2 separate regions of the Homo sapiens genome follow, and region 1 is linked to region 2. The links are contacts of gene promoters, found by promoter capture Hi-C in blood cells and fetal thymus (Javierre and others, 2016). All regions are on one chromosome and are shown on one strand. The core of a region is centred on a gene start or on the middle of the fragment in contact, and the rest is flanking DNA. Distances in the headings are between cores, read along the strand shown. Region 1 overlaps CFAP61 (cilia and flagella associated protein 61). Region 2 holds the start of CFAP61-AS1 (CFAP61 antisense RNA 1).

What was found. Contacts are between HindIII fragments. The CHiCAGO score rates a contact against its expected background, and 5 or more counts as called.
Region 1: a contact is called between a fragment that was not itself captured here and the fragment with the promoter of CFAP61-AS1 in region 2, in 1 of 17 cell types (M0 macrophages). The highest score is 6.2, in M0 macrophages.

Annotation. Positions count from the first base shown.
Region 1 is chr20:20,089,506-20,095,932 of GRCh38, forward strand. It overlaps CFAP61 (cilia and flagella associated protein 61), which reads left to right. Exons shown (of 27, transcript NM_015585.4): 7 at 1,339-1,471. It overlaps LOC124904880 (a long non-coding RNA gene), which reads right to left and starts at 6,250. Exons shown (of 2, transcript XR_007067553.1): 1 at 6,082-6,250; 2 at 4,939-5,258. The HindIII fragment of the contact is 6,730 bases long and covers 1-4,828 here.
Region 2 is chr20:20,264,116-20,269,854 of GRCh38, forward strand. CFAP61-AS1 (CFAP61 antisense RNA 1) reads right to left here and starts at 3,722. Exons shown (of 4, transcript NR_183979.1): 1 at 3,379-3,722. All of the region lies in intron 21 of CFAP61 (cilia and flagella associated protein 61), which reads left to right. RefSeq lists an enhancer at 2,951-3,451. The HindIII fragment of the contact is 5,830 bases long and covers 356-5,739 here.

The DNA of each region.
Region 1 (6,427 bases), core at 214-2,713, 180 kb before region 2:
AAATAGACATTAGTAGCCAAAGCAGATATACTAGAAAAAAATAACACAATGCTGAAACATTTTTACAGAAAGAGTATCAGAGAAAAAAAAAAAAAAGCAAAGTATAAGAACATCCCACACAGGTAAAAAAGAGCACTAAACTTACCCAAGAATGTGCTAAAAAGAAGAAAGGAGTGTTAAATCCTGCAGCAAGATGGAACACAGGAGCTAGCCTCCCCAAGCTGCAATAAATCTGGTTTTTGTTCCCACCTGCCACCGCCCCCTGTGCCAGACTAGTTGTCAAGGTCTCTGTAGAGGGTCCTGAGAATGGAAGCGGAGTGGATGTCCCCAGGAGGGTGAGCAGTGCTCCATCACTTCACCAGCCTTCCCCTCCATGGCAAGTGCAGAGGCATCTCAGGAATAAAGGATGCCATGGGCCAGTGTTTGAAAAATGCATAAACAAGGTTAAATATTCTTTACTGTAGTGCTTCTCAGAGTCTTTAATATGTAACTATGAAACAGGAAGGGACTTATAGTGGTTACTGTTTTTAGGCATTGGAATTCTTTGGGCTGAGAGGATGCTCGGGACAATATCATAGTGGTGTTTCTTAGAACATCCTTGGGAAGTGCTGCCCCTAGTCTCTTGTCCTTTGGCCCATGACAAGTGCTTCCCTGCATCCCACACCCACACATGCCAACTGTGTTCCCTCTGCCTGCAATGTTCCACTTCTAGGTTTCAACATAGCTTCTTCCCTTTCTGTTCATTCAGCTCTCAGCTCAGATGACCCTCCTCATAGAGGTCCTCCCTGACCACTTGACCCTCTCACTCTCTATCCCAAAGCATGTATCATTATTTGAAATGTTTAGAATTGTCTAAATTGGTTACATCTTTATTGTCTGTTTCTCCTATTAGAAGGAAAGTTCAGGCCAGGCGTGGCAGCTCACATTTGTAATCCCAGCACTCTGGGAGGCCGAGGCAGGCAGATCATGAGGTCAAGAGATAGAAACCATCCTGGCCAACATGGTGAAACCCTATCTCTACTAAAAATACAAAAATTAGCTGGGCGTGGTGGTGCATGCCTATAGTCCCACCTACTCGGGAGGCTGAGGCAGGAGAATCGCTTGAACCCGGGAAGCAGAGGTTGCAATGAGCCGAGATCACGCCACTGCATTCCAGTCTGGCAACAGAGTGAGACTCCCTCTCAAAAAAAAAAAAAAAAAAAAAAAAGAAGGAAAGTTGATATCATGAGTGTTGCTCTAGCCCCGGCACTTAGAACAGGGTCTGGCACACAGTTGGTGCCCTGTTGAAGGAAAAAAATGAGTGAACGAACACTGAACTTCAGCCTTTCTATTAAACAGGGTGGAAGACCATGACGATCTCATGCCAATATTTATGCGCTATGACACAATTCTGAAGGAAACTTACGGTGAATACTTCCTGGCCGAACTAATAGAGGCCCAAGATGAAGAGAATCATGCTGTTGTGTGTGAGGTCAGTGACTGATTCATGTGGGAACACACTTAGTGAGAGGAAGGAGGGATGTGAGTGGTGTTGCTCTTGCGTTGCTGGGCACCCCTGGAGCTGCCATTGTCTCCCTGGCCACCCCGGCCCTCCCACTGCCCTTCCAGGTGGTGCACCAGGCCAGCTTCCTCCCCTGGGTTACTGGCTTTAGGTTGTCTTTTGCGAGGTCCTTCCAGATGCCCACGATGCTGTAGATTCTTGCCTTGTCCCTAGAGTGAGAGGGAATGGAAAAGACCCCCCAGGGGTGCGTAGGGGGATTTCTGAGGATCCCCAAATCTCAGACTTCAGAAGTCACAAACCAGCGTTCTGCTGGCAGATGGATTTTGTTTGAGTTGGAAAGGTATTTTTTTTAACTTTTTGTTTTGACATAGTTTCACACTTAAAGAAAGTTTATAACTACCCAGATTCCCCAAATGTTAACATCCAACCCCATTTGTTTTATCATTCTCTTGTTCAACCTTTCTAATTCCCTCTCTCTCTCTCTTTTTCTCTCTTGCTGGCTCTCTCTCTCTCTCTCATGTATATTCTGAACCATTTGAGAGTAAGTTGCATACATAATGCCCCTTTACCTGTAAGTATTTCAATGTATATTTCCTAAAAACAAGGACACTCTCTTAGATAACTGCAATACAATGATCAAAGCCAAGTAATTATGATTCCTGTAATTATTATTATTATTATTATTTTTTGAGATGGAGCCTTGCTCTGTCACCCAGACTGGAGTGCACTGTCATGATCTCGGCTCACTGCAACCTCCGCCTCTCGGGTTCAAGCAATTCTCCTGCCTCAGCCTCCCTAGTAGCTGGGATTACAGGTGTGCGCCACCACGCCCAGCTAACTTTTGTATTTTTAGTAGAGACGGGGTTTCACCATGTTGGCCAGGCTGACCTGAGGTGAACTCCTGACCTCAGGTGATCCGCCCGCCTTGGCCTCCCAAAGTGCTGGGATTACAGGCGTGAGCCACCGTGCCCAGCTAGTTCCTGCAATTCTTTTATCTAATCTACAGACTTCATTCAGATTTTTCTGACAGTCCCAGGAATGTCCTTTATGGCAGAGGTAATTCCAGGCCATTCATTGCATTCAGGTGCTCTGTTTCTTCAGCCTTTTTAAATCTGGAACAATTCTCCGATCCGTCTTTATCTTCCATGACAATTACAGTTTTGAATAGTACAGGTCAGTTATTTTGTAGAATGTCTCCATTTGGATTTGTACAATGTTTTCTCATGATTTGATTCAAGTTATATATGATTAAATATTTTTGAATTAGCAGCTATTGTAAAAATTATGAAAGTCTATGTAAAAATTGGAATTTCTAGCTTTTCTAAACAAATCAGAAGGCCCAGCCTATTGGGCCCAAAAGGCAGCCCACACCCTCTAATTCATGATTCTTCATCTACTCATTTCTCATTATTTGTTAAAACTGTAAGAGCTGTTTAAAGAATATTACTTTTCTTGAAACTTGGAATGAAAAGTTCTCTTACTTGGATGACATGAGCAGTTTGAGGCTTTGTTCTACATCAGTGGTTCTCAAACTTGGCATATATGCAGATCACCTGGGAGGCTTTTAACTATCCATACCATGCCAATGACTTGGATCCAGAATATATACAAAGAACTCTCACAACAATAGAAAAATAATCCACATAAAATGTGGGCAAATGATTCGAATAGACACTTTTAAAAAAAATGAATAAATAAAAGATACAACTGGCCAATAAGCACATGAAAAGACATTCAACATCATTAGTCATTAAGGAAAGGCAAATCAAAACCACACTAAGATACCACTTTACCTCTGCTAGGAGGGTTATAATAAAAAAGCAGGACAATAGCAGATGTTGGCAAGGATGTGGAGAAATTGGAAGCCTCATCCATTGCTGGTAGGAATATAAAATGCTGTGGCCATTTTGGAAAAAGTCTGGTATTTTCTCCAAAAGTTAAACATTTGACCCAGCAATTCCATACACAGAATTGAAAACACATGTCCACACAGAGATGTGTACGCAAATGTTCATAGCAGCATTATTCATAATAGCCAAAAAGTGGAGACAGCCCAAATGTCTATCTACTGATGAATAGATAAACAAGATGTGGTATATCCACACAAGGGAATAGTACCAGGAAATAAAAGAGAACGAAGCACTGATACATGCTACAGCGTGTATGAACCTTGAAAACATGATGCTAAAGAAAAGAAGTCAGTCATAAAGACCACGTATTGTATGATGGCATTTAGATGAAAGCCTAGAATAGACACTTCTGTAGAGACAGAAGGTAGATTAGTGACTGGAGGGAAAGGGGAAGGAGAAGTGACTAATATTGGGCATAGTCGTTGGTTGGTGGGGGGATGAAAATGTTCTGGGATTAGACAGTGGTGATGGGTGTACAATTTTGTGAATATATTAAAAACCATTGAATTGTGTATTTCTTTTTTTTTTTTTTTTTTGAGACAGAGTCTTGCTCTGTTGCCCAGGCTGGAGTGCAGTGATGTGATCTTGGCTGACTGCAACCTCCACCTCCCGGGTTCAAGTGATTCTCCTGCCTCAGCCTCCCAAGTAGCTGGGATTACATGCATGTGCCACCACACCAGGCTAATTTTTGTATTTTTAGTAGAGATGGGGTTTTGCCATGTTGACCAGGCTGGTCTCAAACTCTTGGCCTCAAGTGATCTGCCTCCCAAAGTGTTGGAATTACAGGTGTGAGCCACTGCACCAGGCATGAATTGTGTACTTCTTGAAGGGTTGTTTTTATGGTAGGTGAATTATATCAATTATATCCATTTTTAAAAATCCTGTTGCAGGGGTACACTCAGGCCAATTAAGTCAATCTTTTGGGGGTGAGACACAATCCATATATTTATTTTTAATTTTGGACACTCACTATGTTGCCCAGGCTTTTCTTAAACTGCAGTCCTCCTGCCTCAGCCTCCCAAAGTGCTACGGTTACAGGCATGAGCCACCATGCCTGACCTCAATCTGGATTTTTAAAGATCTCCCCAGATGATTCCAAGGTGCAGTCCAGGTGGTGAAACACTCATCTACATGAGGGTAAAACATACCTGGTGAGAATGACATGACTTTATAGAGATGTGGGTATTAGTTTCTGAAGGTGACAATTGGCCCCTGGAAATTAGATTCTGAAGTACTACATTGAAAGGATTTTTATTTATTTTTTAAATGTTTATTTTATTTTCTTATATTTAGGTTTTGGCATGGTTTCTCAAAGACCCGCTTTCACGTATTCTTGTTTAGCCATTAGCCCCAGGCTACCAGGCTAGCCATAGAAGGGAGGGTTGGAAGCATTTGGGCCCAGCAGTACCATTTGGAAAGCTTGTCTTTACACAACTAGACAGAAACTCCTGAGAAGTGAAATGATTCATACAGACCCCAATAAGGATTTTCATGACCAAACTTTACTTATCAGGTTTAATCAGGGTCTTTGTTTTTGGAAGGCTTTTAATTATTTGGTTCCAAGGTACTAGTTTTACTCTGAATCACTTGAGTCAGTGCTTTGTAGAGAAGCTGCAGTGACCTCTTCCCCCACGTTCTTTCTCTCTCTTGCCGTATGTTTCACACTTTCAGTGTGTGTAAACATCAGAGCAAAGCTGTAGGCTGAAAACTGCAGTTCCAACCCTGCAAGAATCCTTTGGTGTCTCGAAAGAGGCAGAGGGCATCCAGCCCCATCTCCTTCCAGAGGCCGTGCTGCCTCAAGCATCAGAGGCTTTGTGTTCTGTGGAGGGGAGACCACAGACCTCGATCTTAAAATGGAAGGGCAGAAACAAGACTGTGAGCCGGGATCTGGGAGGGGACGTCTAATCTGAAGTGAGCCATGTCTGATGTCTGAAGCCTTTTGGGGTTCAAGATCAATGCTGTTGCTACCCTTTTTCCTGCCTCCCTAGGGGGCTTTTAGGCAATGGTGTGCTGGAGCCAGCTTGCTCTGGCTCTCAAGGGCTGATTGTTAAATCCTCAGGAACTCTGCAAACTGCTTGTTAAACACAGCTATTATTAAAAATTAAATTATAGAAACCTACAGTGTAATAAATTATATTAAAACAAAGTTAATAAATACTTGAAATTCATCACCTTCCATTTTTTTTTACTATTCTCCATGTTCTTGAGGGTTTTTTTTTAAATGTCTGGGTCTCTATACAGTAGATATAAGAAATAATGGCTAGCTACTGCGCATTCCCTCCCAACTACATGTTTAGTGAGATCACACTGTTCACTTGACATTGACCATGATGACAGCGCTTACACCTCAGAAATCGGCAAATGCTACAGATCTGGGCTTTTCCCCCGCAAATGCTGATTAGGCATTTACAGGCACACGTTACTTTAAGGCAACCACTGTCAACCAGAGGAAACAGAAAGAAGTCCATCAAGTTTGTCTTTCTGAACAGCCATGGCAGTTCCAGGCCAGGCATGCAGCATGCCTGAGGGCAAGGCTGTGCCCTGTGGGAAACCCTTACTACTGAAAGGGTTTTTAGTTACAAGGACTTTCTTTGGCTTGATAGCTAGTTTGGAGGAGTTTGGGGCCATCACTTCATACAAGTTCCTTGTCATAACTGTACCCTGGCTTACCTTGACATCTGGTGTTTACTCCAAGCTGAGGTTTTAGGGAAGGGTAGTTGGAGGCCAGCGGCGGCTCCTAGTGACAGATGGGCAGAGCGTCTGCTTTGGCATCATCCAGGGTGTGGGCAGCAGTGGTCCGAGTAGGCACCACTGACCTGCAGGCAGGGAAAGCCTGCCAGGTCAGCCATGCGCTTGGCATCAGGAGGAGAGGATCAGAGCCAGCAGTGGTCACAATGAGGGCAAAACCCTCACAGTGGAATATTGTCACCCAAAAGGGATGGGTGGCTGTAGGGCTTTTTGGATGGAAGCATAAATGAGAAAATACACACGTTTCTGTAAATGGACCTGTTTGGGA
Region 2 (5,739 bases), core at 2,472-4,971:
AACATTTTAAAATGAGTATCAAAGGGCATTCAGTGCGTTGCTGGATTCAATTTGCTGATACTATTTATAGGCTATTTGCCTCTAAATTCATAAATGAGATTGACCTGTAGTTCTCTCTTTTATGCATTGCTTGTCAGGTTTTTGGAATCAAGGGTATGCTAGTCTCACAAAGCATTTTTGGAAGCTCCCCATATTCTTTGGGGATCTGAAATACAAAGTAACTTAAGGGTTGCACAGAAATTACCCATAAAACCAACTGAGTCTGGAACCTTTGGGTAGAGGTGGGATATATAGATAGATTATACCGGCAACCCAGATTTTTTAAATGTCATAAAGTATTTCATACTTTCATCCAAGCTTGGAATTATTTTCAGTTTTGCATCTATGTATGTTTAAACCTGTTTTAGCCTTTTAGTCATTCTGTAGTAATCACCCCATGATCTATGTAGACTCAGAGTATTTTCTTATCAGGGAAAATTCTCTAATCCATGGGTTGGTGAATTTTTACTGTAAAATACCAGTAAATATCACTCTGGGGGGCCAAGGTGAGAGGATCACTTGAGCCCAGGAGTTTGAGACCAGCCTGGGAAACACGGGAAAACCCCACCTCTACAAAAAATACAAAAATTAGCTGGGCATGGTGGTGTACACCTGTAGTCCCAGCTACCTGGGAGGCTGAGGTGGGAGGATCAATTGAGCTTGGGAGGTCAAGGCTGCAGAGAGGCATGATTATGCCACTGCACTCCAGCCTGGGTGACAGAGCAAGACCTTATCTTAAAAATTTTTTTTCTTTTAGACTTTGCAGGCCATATGGTCTCTGTTGCAACTCTTCAACTCTGCTCATTTAGTGAGCAAGCAACTATAGACAATATGTAAATGAATGGGCAGGTTTGTGTTCTGATAAAATTTATTTATTAAACCAGACATGAGCTGTAGTTTGTAGTAACCAGCTTTTAGCCATAACATTTTTGACAAATCATTACCATTTCATGAAGTCCAGACCTCCAAATGTACCATAAGTTCCCCAAAAGCAGAAAAGCCAGTGGTTCAAGACAAAATGCACAGTTCATCTTTAAGACTGCACCCAATCCTGTCAGCCTGCAGTGCTGTGCTTTAACTTTGAACCTTTGTGTGTTTTGGTTGTTTGGGCTAGGGAGCATTTGACCAAGAAAAGAGCCTTCGAAAGTGGCACTGCAAGGTCTTAAGGTGGAATATTGATAGCAGAGAATTTAGAAACCCCAAAGCAAGAAGCGCTGTAGTCTCTTTCATGTGCCTTTGTATTGTCCTCTTGGTTCTCAGATGGAGGAAGAGCATCAGTGTTATTCTGCTGACTTGCCCAGTTGTCAGGGATGGTGATGCTGTGGTGCCCCCTTAAAGGGAAATGTTTTTTCAAGATTTAAGACTGACTCCCAGCAGCCAGTGCATAAAGCCATTTGGAGTGCCTGCTTTTGTCCACCAAATAGCCAGGATAAGAAGTATGTGGAAATTAGTTTCCTGTCTTACATGTAGGTGATTTTCTCCAGGTCTGGTGCTTAATGACTCCCCCAGGCACCTCTCAGGTAGGTGCTCTTAACACTGAAATGCTAGGACCAAGCTCTGGGAGCCTTCAGGGAAACCTGACCTGGCCAAGTTCATTTAACTCTGTGTAGAGGCCCTTTTCAAGTAAATTCTCAAGTAAAAAAAGTTAAGAAAAAATGTTAACATCTTGCCTTAAAAAAACTTTCTCCTCTTTGTATCTTTTCTGTAATCCAGGTCATACTCAGACATAACTTTAGTCCCATTCAGACCTTATTCTTGCCATTATTATTCTTGCAGCATCACTGGATCACAGTCCAAATCTCAGAGCAGAGGAGGCCTAGGACAGAAAGCCCGTCCCCACCTGAGCCAAGAACCAACAACCACAGACAGAATTATACCCACAGAGGCTCCCAGGAAATGCAGCAAAGAGTAGGATCCAGTGTGAGAGGAGGCCTCGAGGTAGAGCCTCCTAAATAAACCATTGGCTTCTCTGGCAGGCTGAAATACATTTAGCTGGGAGGGCATTCCATATAGAAATACAAATTCATGCCAAATCACTTCAGTCACCTTGTGACCTCTATTTCTTAACTGAGACTTTGGGTATATGATACTTGAGTTTCATTGCTGGGCTTTCAAATCCCTTTTCATACTGCAGAAAGCCTAGTGATCTTTCCAGAACTGCATTTTGAAAAGAATATAGCTGTTGCAGCATTGCTTCTGAGACATCTACAGTACCATACTTGGCTGAAGCTCCAAGCCATTTCTTTGATAATTTCAGCTCTACTCTATCTCAGTGTCACTTGTATCCAGCATAGTGCCTGGCACATAGTAAATGCAAAATAAATGTTTTACTGAATGTAAGTGAAGACAGTTCAGGATGTAACTCTTTTCCTTACCTCCCACATGGTGAGTTTTATCAAAACTTTTTGCATTCGGCCTACCTGGAAATAGATGGTCAATTGAGATGAAGACAAGAGAACCCTTGAATGAAATTGAAGCTATTCTTTAAAAATTCATCCTTAGTAATGAGAGTAATAACATGCTGGCTACACAGGATGAGTTAAGCTCCTCCTCACGAATAACAGACATTTATAAAGTCAGTCTAGCTCAGGTTCTGGAGTCACGTGACTTGGGTTCAAATCTTGGGTCTGCCGTTTCCCTGGGCAAGTTACTTAACTGCTTTGTGTCTCAGATTCTAGATAATATCTACCTCACATGGGTTGCTGAGAGGGTGAAAAGAGATAAATGAGATTACATGCCATACTCAGGACAGTCTCTCATACATAGAAAGAGTTTCATAGAGGCTGCCATTAGCATTGCTCTTACTTCTATGTGTGATGGAATTAAAGGTACCCTAGAGTAGAAGTCTCAGCCCTTGCCACCAGGGCCCTGATGAAGTTGAGGATATCAGTCTCTATTTAAAGACAGGGATCCGTGTACACCAGGTGCCAGTCAGCTATAGAGGCACTGTGGCCTTCAGGAGAGCCCTGGAGGCTGTGAAGTTTGGAGAAGGCCTCCCCGAGAAAGGAGGATTTGAGCTCAGTCTTGAAGAGGGACAGGATAAGAAGAGAGAGAGGCTGGGGGAGTTTGGATTGTGTCCAAAAGACACTGGGCCAACAACGTGGGCTGGGCAGAGTCTGTGAAGGGCAGCAGCAGGAGATGAAGCCAGAGGCATGGGCAGGGACAGACACTGGCGGGCCGCAAGCACCCAGCCACGTCCAAGTTTAACTGGTTACCTTTTAGGGATGGGAGCTGACCAGGCGGGTGCCGCTGTACACACATAGCACTTTGGGAAAATGGCCTTTCCATCTGTAGTACCCATGCCAGCAGAGAGAAGGTGACCACGGGAGAATGGCTTACCATGGATGGCAGTAGCCAATAGGGGCGAGGCAGCTGTGGATGCAGGAGCTAGCTGGAAGTGGCCACCCTTGCTGCATGTGGTGGTCTTGCTGACACAGCCACTGCTAGCTTATTTCCAAGTCAGCGATGAGATGGTGGTGTTGCAGGGCTTTTCCGTAGTTCAGCTAAAGATGGGGTCCTTGTCCGTCCCGTGGCCACGAAAACGTAGCCTCGCAGACGGTTTGAAGGGTGAGTTAAACAGGGTTTTACTGGGTGAAAGGAAAAAAATGGGGTGGAGGAGGGGGAAGCAGGATCCTCCGCAAGGCAAGCCGGCTACTTGATTCCCAGGTTCCACACAGGAAGAGGAGGGGCCAGGCTCCTCCCCACTGCAGATGGCATGCATTTCCGGAGGCTCCACCCCAATGTGCAGGCTGGTTGGAGTTTTTCTAGGGACTCCCTCCCACCTGCCTGTCTCATTGGCATTTGAAGCCAGAAGCTAGAAGTCTGGCACATGATGGAAAGCAAGGAGCAGGGCTGTGCTTATGCACGTTTGAAAAGTCGCATGGAGCCATCCGTGACCGTCCTGGACATTTCAGTCCTTGCTTTTTCTTCATGTCACCCTAATAACACCAGGAGGAATGTGGACAGTTTTCATCATAGTTTATTTTTACTCCCTCAGTGCTAATTTCCCCTTTTTTAAATACTTTAGCATGTGAGTTGGGGCAAGGGAGCCAAGGACAGTGAAAAATAGTTTCATCGTGTCCCACTGGCTGTGGTTGGGTGACATGTCCCTCCGGGAACCACACCCTGAATCCTAACAAACACCAGTGCTGATGTTACTGAAGCCCAGGGATGTGAGGGGAGAATGGTGGATGGATTGTTCTAGAACAGTGGATATTGGGCATCAAGAACAAGAGATACTCCCAGGAGGAAGTCGGCTCTCCTTTGAACTTCTACCCATTGCAGACGCACACAGATACCACCCCAGAGAGTAGCTCCTTCCCACAGTCACTGTTGTATTTCACATCTTCTGCTTCCAAAGGAGAACACAGTGGTTCTGTGATGGAATTAGTCCATCCAGAGGACATGGTTTTCCGGGCTCTAGAGTTGGATGGATTTATAGAAGTAAATTACCCTAAACTATTAGAACTGCTCTAGTGCCATGGAGAAGAGCTGACATCACAGGCTCAAATGCTGCTTTCAACTGCAAACAAAACCTGGAGTGTTCTGCTGGGGGGTTTCTGATAGAACCCAGCAACCCGATACATTATAACAATTTATGGCACTAATTGAAACTAATTGAAATTCATCTGCTATTACCTCTGTACTTTCCATGAAAATGAAAAGTAGGATGAAAGTAAAGTAAAAAAAATAAACTACCTTAATGGCTCAAAATGGATCAATTATTTTCATCTTTAGCTAAATACAGTTTACTGCCTTATTAAAAGCATGTTTGTAGGAAAAGTATAACATTAAAATTCCACTGCATGCATCATCGAACAGAGGCTTTGTTATGTTATATCTAATATATTCTTCCCTTTTTATTCAGCAGAGCAGAACGGGACAGGTCACGTTTTGGGCATAGAAATCTTATGCTTTGGCTTCTAAAAAGTAAAAAGCGCATTGTCTGGTTCTATTCGTGGGCTATATATATATATATATATATATATATATACACACACACACACACACATACATATATGTATATACACACACATATATACATATATGTATATATACACATATATACATATATGTATATATATACACGTATATGTGCATATATACATATATATTTCATTAAAATACAAAAGAATAGGTAAATATGCATAGACATAATTTAAAATATATAAACTATAAAATGTAACATACACATATATGTATATGTGTACATATATATATATACACACACATATATAGACAGAATCTTGCTCTGCCATCCAGGCTGGAGTGCAGTGGTGCAATCTAGGCTCACTGCAACCTCTGCCTCTCAGGCTCAAGTGATTCTCCTGCCTCAGCCTCCTGAGAAGCTCAGATTACAGGCATGCACCACCATACCCGGCTAATTTTTGTATTTTTAGTAGAGATGGGGTTTCACCATGTTGGCCAGGCTGGACTCAAACTCCTAACCTCAAGTGATCCTCCCGCCTTCGCCTCCCGAAGTGCTGGGATTACAGGCATGAGCCACCACTCCTGGCCTGTTTTTTAATGAGTGTTTATTTCACAATTTATTAATAATCTGTGATTGCTACTTAAAAATATTTCATTATCTAGTTATTTGCTGAAGATATTTACCCATATAAAATGCCAGTTGGAGTATATTTTAGTAACGTGTTACATATCCATCTGCAAGTGTACTGCAGTGCTATGAGACCTGATTTT